2 separate regions of the Homo sapiens genome follow, and region 1 is linked to region 2. Evidence: promoter capture Hi-C in human tissues and cell types (Jung and others, 2019). All regions are on one chromosome and are shown on one strand. The core of a region is centred on a gene start or on the middle of the fragment in contact, and the rest is flanking DNA. Distances in the headings are between cores, read along the strand shown. Region 1 overlaps SELENOP (selenoprotein P). Region 2 holds the start of ANXA2R (annexin A2 receptor).

Region 1 (3,209 bases), core at 221-2,720, 240 kb after region 2:
AGACATATTCACAAACATCTTAAATTTAATTATTCAAATCTGTATTGATTATCTTCTCCTAAAACATGCTTATACTTTCACTTTTGTGTGATTTTTATATACAACCTATTGGAGGCAGATGCAGCCAACCACTAGGGCATATAATCCTATAATTTTCAGACCCTGCACTCCCAGTCATCATCCACTATTTTGCAGGACATCACAAAAACCATCAGGTATGGCAGCCTTGCTGCCATCCACCCCTTCACAAAACTGTGTGACAGGAATGTATTACTTACTCCTTCCACCACACTTCCCACCTCAGTCAGTAATCAAATTCTATGGGTTCTTAATCCTGAGTATATTTATCTCATATCCGTAATTATTATCTCAAGTTACTTCCTGGTGACCACTCCTCTAGATTTTTCCACTAATCTCTTCACTTGATTTCTTCTTGTTTTGTATTTAATAGTAAGTGATTTAAAATAATATATTTGCTTTTGATTATTGCCAAATAGTTTATAAACTCTTTATTCACATTTATTTTTTTGAAATGACTTTGATTTTTGAAATGACTTTTTAAAAAGTAAGGCATGTAAAAGAGTTCACCATTCCAAGAGGAAAATACAGAAAATTGATTATCCCCATAAATTGGCATTTCGGTTAAATAAAAAGAATGACCAATTTGTATATCCTGTACAATTCTAACCTAATTCTTTTGCAAATGAATAACCATATCTTCTAATTAATTTTAATCTAAATAATAATTTTAAGGCTACATACCTGAATTTCTGAACTGTAAAGTGAGTTAATCATTTAAGCATGATCTGCACAAATCTACTTTTGATTCTATGAACAAATAAAACATTTATATTTTGAGGGAATCTCAATTCATGCATTATGCCATTATAAACATTCTTAGTTGGTGCTTTGTTTTTTTTGACTCTCCGGAGTCTGGTGAGCCCTACTTGGTCTTACACTAAATTTTTAAAAATTCACATTTCATTCTTTTAGGCCTTTAAACTTCTAATTTTTAGGATAACCTAAAAGTATAACCCTTTGATAGTCACATAAAACCATATATACTAGGTAAAATGTAGGCAAGAAGAACATTTTAACCCCACCATTTCTGACAATGCCACATGTTCTAATACTTTCATTGTGCTGAAATTTTCATTGCATTAGATACATTTTTAAATAAATGGGCTACTGGCCAAGGCTTGGAGATGTTTTTGTTATGTGATGATTTCTTGTTGTGTCAAATTTGTGCTGCCTTAGCAGTTATGACAAGCTCAAGTGATTTTCAGAGCCTAATTTATAAGTTAGCGGTTTGGGCACTGGTAGAATTTATAAGTCAGTCACAAAATTGTATTTTACCAAGTCACAGTGATGACATTTTTGATATTATATAGTGACATATCTATAACATTTCAAAATACTAGTATTAGACTAATTATAGTGTTGCTATGACCTGACCTGGTGTGCAGTACCTGGGAGCTCATTTGTAGCTCTCATCCAAAGAAATTTAGTAAAGGCGTGAAAGGGTCTTAGTTATGACCATTAAACCTATAATACCTATCCCAGACTGTATTTGAGTAGGATCGTGATACAGAAAATATTATAGTGACATTGTATTTGTCCTTTTTCTTAGATGTGGCCGTCTTGTATATCATCTTGGTTTGCCTTTTTCCTTCCTAACTTTCCCATATGTAGAAGAAGCCATTAAGATTGCTTACTGTGAAAAGAAATGTGGAAACTGCTCTCTCACGGTATTTTTCTGAATTATTTTTCTGGGGAGAAAAGAGGAAATCTTTTAAGAGTTTATCATGAAACACTTATTTAGAAAACTCAATGCTTTTGCAGGTGTACTAAAAATAAATAACAATAATTTTTACAATTAAACAAACATCCTGTCATCTAACCTCTACTTTATTTATTTATTTATTACTATTACTATTATTTTTGAGACGGAGTCTGTCTCTGTCGCCGAGGCTGGAGTGCAGTGGCGCGATCTCGGCTCACTGCAAGCTCCGCCTCCCGGGTTCACGCCATTCTCCTGCCTCAGTCTCCCGAGTAGCTAGGACTACAGGCGTCCGCCACTACTCCCAGCTAATTTTTTGTATTTTTAGTAGAGACGGGGTTTCACTGTGTTAGCCAGGATGGTCTCGATCTCCAGCCCTTGTGATACGCCCGCCTCGGCCTCCCAAAGTGCTGGGATTACAGGCGTGAGCCACCGCGCCCGGCCTAACCTCTAGTTTAAAACATCTTTTGAAGATCGATGTTGCTGCCTTTATCTAGAAGAGCTTTAGAAATTAAAAATCAATGTATCGTATTTCAGTTACCACCAAATGACGTTGCATGGGCATAAGTGCTCAAAAAATTTAGTCAACACAAAAAAGCAATGTTATTGTAGTAACCTGAACATGTTAGCACAAGAACATAAAAATAGCAAAGCTTACCCACAGCATTACTTGGAATGGAACTGGGGCCAGAAACTACTTAATTTATTGAAGATGCAAGGCTATCAGATTTTTCCTGAAGCCCTTCCACTGCCTGCCCATCTGCAGTCTGAGTTTACTTCAAAATGGAGTAAGTTTTCTACTCATTACTGGTATTTATTTCCTAACAACCATGAAAATATTTCTTCTTTGTTATGAGAAGAACTATATTTAAATCTTTTTTAAATAAAAAAGGCACTCAAAGAATTTAATTTGTATTAACTAGACTTGTTTTCCTTCATAACAAAAAGGAAAATAATTCTAAACAATGTTCCATTGAGAAGTCAGATTGGGAAAATTTGAACTTAGGTTTAAAAACAATTCACAATTTTATCTGTAAGTTGTATTTCCTTCAGATTTTCCCCAGGTCTAAAGAAAGCCGCCTCAAATTTTTAACGAATTTAATTAATTAATTTAGTTGTTAAGGAGTATAAGTTACTTACTCTAGTTATGTAATTTTCACATTTTAATCTTTATAATGATCTTTTGAGGGTTATTTTACTATTTTTAAAGATGAGGAGACTGAGGTAATGGAAGAAAATACTAAGAGTAATGAAAGAAAAGTACTAACTCAACCTATACTAAGCATTTAATAAATACTAATTATAATGATTCCTCATATTTTGGGATTATTTCTGCATTTCTCATTTGTGCAAATGCTTGCTAGTTATAAATATACCCAGTTATATTGAAAAAGGCAGTTAATAGTTACCACAATATGCTTAAAATGTG
Region 2 (3,017 bases), core at 371-2,870:
AGTCCTGACTTAAGACAAACACCGGTCTAGCCCTGGCTGCGATATCTAGGCCGTAGGAACTCACCCGTTTCCCCATGCGAAGGCGAAGTTACCCTGTGACTCGTTGGTCAGCAGCTCCGGGTTTCCAGTGGCCTCGGATTTCTAATCATAACAACCATGGGGTCAGCCTAGCCTCAAGTTTCTTAGTCCTAGCAAGTTCCGGTTTCCTACTGGTAAGACTTGCTTTAGCTGCGCAGGAAATGTTTAACTCCTGTGGAAATCTGGGTACCAGCGAATGCTTTTTTTTTTTTTTTAAAGGTTTAGCGATGACCAGTTTAGCAGTGTTGGGAGCTCTTATACCAAGTTTGGTTTCGCAATATCGAGTCCTGTCTTAGCTATGCTTGTGTGTTTTTAAAACTCCCGTGGAAGTCAGGAAATGCCGGCGATCGCGATGTCTCAGTTTTACCAAGCTCCCTTTGACAATAGCAAGTCCTGCCCATCGAGACTTTTTCCTCTTGTAGACCAAATCGGGATGTACCAGCTACTACGATTTTTTAGACGTAGCTAAACACGTTTAACCGTGGATATTTTTGTTTTTTTTCTCGTAGGAAATTATGACAGGAGCAACCTGCAGGGGTTTAGATCTGACAGAAATATTCTAATGGTAGGCATTGCATCGCTTAGCCATATTTGTAATTTCTTCTTTGTAGGGTTGGTTCTCTGTAACTTTTGCTTACCTTAAAATTATTTTTGTGTCTTGCTCTGAGGACAATGTTACCGATGTGTTTTTCATTTTTACTTGCATTTCAGACTTTCATTATTTTAAATTATGTATTTTTTTTTTCTTCTAATTTTGAGCGTCTCAGATTCGTGCTTCTTGACTTTCATTCTCTCAGGAGCCGGGGAGCCGAGCTCGGTCTTAGCCTCGCTGGTATCAGGTTCCGGGTTCTGTCTGGAGGCTCCGCTTCCTATGCAGAGCTGGCGGTTTTGTATCAGCACGTTTGCCAGTGGCGCCCACTGGGCGTTTTCTCAGTTGCTGCACCCAACGTGACATTTCCCGTTCGCGGGGTCCTTAGGTTCTCAGTGCTGTCACTTTTTCGCTCCTACAACCGCTAGTATCTCCTAGGAACTTCCTGAACCCCGTTTTGCCGTGCAGAACGGTGATTGCACCGAGCCGCTGTTCGCACTAGTAATTGTGTGGTACCATTAGCCGGCGCTTTTTCTGTCACAACCCATTAAAACGGGTTAAAACATATTAAACCTATCAAACACATTGAACGGATTAAAACACATTAAATGCCGCAACACATTTTTCTGGTACAACACATTGAAACAGAGTTGGTTCATTCCTCCAAACAGGTTGTTTAGGTGTGGAAGCACCGCTCTTAGTTCTAAGAGCATGCTGTTTCTCTTTAGCAGCACCCTTTACGGCGCCAAAACGGATATTTGTTTGGCAATACCAGCGCTATCCGCTAGGTGCCGGCGCTTGCTAAGTTCAACGCGCCAGTTTCTCGTTTGCAAGGTGGTTAGGGCAGAGCCCTAGCAGACAGTTTTCCGGTGGCAGCAACGCTCATTTCCCGGAAACGGGTGGTTCTTGGCCCTTGCGCGCTCTTGAATACCTGCGTTCTGTAGCGCTAGTTCTCTTCAAGATTTGCTTAGTGTCATTTCATTTCGGTTTCTTTTCTCGCCATGTTTTTCTGTCGGAATTACGGTTCGTTTTGGTTCTATGTACTCTCTAAAATGTTATCGTTTTTCATTTGTCTACTAATTTTCGTGCATTTGTTACTACTGAGTTTCTTAATATCTGACTGGCCTCCGCCCACGGGCTCTGCAGAGCATAAATACTCAGGCTGATGGTAGTGCAGAGACTCTCCCTCCTTGATCAGCGCAAACGTTGGTCTGAGGCTTGAGGGATGGAGCAACATTTTCTTGGCTGTGTGAAGCGGGCTTGGGATTCCGCAGAGGTGGCGCCAGAGCCCCAGCCTCCACCTATTGTGAGTTCAGAAGATCGTGGGCCGTGGCCTCTTCCTTTGTATCCAGTACTAGGAGAGTACTCACTGGACAGCTGTGATTTGGGACTGCTTTCCAGCCCTTGCTGGCGGCTGCCCGGAGTCTACTGGCAAAACGGACTCTCTCCTGGAGTCCAGAGCACCTTGGAACCAAGTACAGCGAAGCCCACTGAGTTCAGTTGGCCGGGGACACAGAAGCAGCAAGAGGCACCCGTAGAAGAGGTGGGGCAGGCAGAGGAACCCGACAGACTCAGGCTCCAGCAGCTTCCCTGGAGCAGTCCTCTCCATCCCTGGGACAGACAGCAGGACACCGAGGTCTGTGACAGCGGGTGCCTTTTGGAACGCCGCCATCCTCCTGCCCTCCAGCCGTGGCGCCACCTCCCGGGTTTCTCAGACTGCCTGGAGTGGATTCTTCGCGTTGGTTTTGCCGCGTTCTCTGTACTCTGGGCGTGCTGTTCACGGATCTGTGGAGCTAAGCAGCCTTAGATAGCAGCAGAAGGCTTTTTGGATTCTCCTCCTTGAAAAGATTCTCAGTTACCAAACGTCTCCACCTAGAAAATAAAAATACATTAAGATGTGCTTTCATTGCTGGTTGTCAGTTTTTAAATTCTCTTTTTCCCTTATGTTTCTTTCTTGTTTCGCGTCGCTTATTACTTTCAGTTTCCTTGTATTTTAAATATTTGTATTTATTTCATTAAATATTTCATTCGTATCTGTTTTCACTTTGAGAAATCTATTTTACGATTGTAGAATTCTTAGAGTTTTTGGCAAATTTAAAATTTGTTTTTTTCCATTGTATTTTAAAATCTTATTCCTACTATTTTTCTAATTATTGCTTTTTAAATGTATTGTTTGTTTACATTTAATTTTATATCATGTCTTTTACGTTATTATAACGTCTTTTTAATTTTAATTGTTAATTTTATTTTTAACAGCGGTCTTTCTTTTTTTCAGTATATCGATTCATTGTTTTACACTCAGGAATTTTATTCACGATCATAAGACTGAGAGGTTTATCAATCTTTGCTA

Evidence for each region. Contacts are between HindIII fragments. The study calls those that stand out against the background at their distance.
Region 1: a fragment that was not itself captured here is called in contact with the fragment with the promoter of ANXA2R in region 2 in 1 of the 25 tissues and cell types used here (stomach).

What each region holds. Positions count from the first base shown.
Region 1 is chr5:42,803,195-42,806,403 of GRCh38, reverse strand. SELENOP (selenoprotein P) reads left to right here. Exons shown (of 5, transcript NM_005410.4): 4 at 1,631-1,748. Among named protein-coding and RNA genes, the nearest start is that of SELENOP, 7.1 kb to the left of the region's middle. RefSeq lists enhancers at 1,671-2,171, 2,172-2,672. The HindIII fragment of the contact is 6,382 bases long and covers 1-3,209 here.
Region 2 is chr5:43,038,922-43,041,938 of GRCh38, reverse strand. ANXA2R (annexin A2 receptor) reads left to right here and starts at 1,620. Exons shown (of 1, transcript NM_001014279.3): 1 at 1,620-2,568. The coding sequence starts at 1,893. The coding sequence ends at 2,474. All of the region lies in intron 2 of ANXA2R-OT1 (ANXA2R overlapping transcript 1), which reads left to right. RefSeq lists enhancers at 232-311, 1,967-2,016, 2,027-2,436, 2,457-2,506, 2,198-2,738 and a silencer at 1,357-1,626. The HindIII fragment of the contact is 17,645 bases long and covers 1-3,017 here.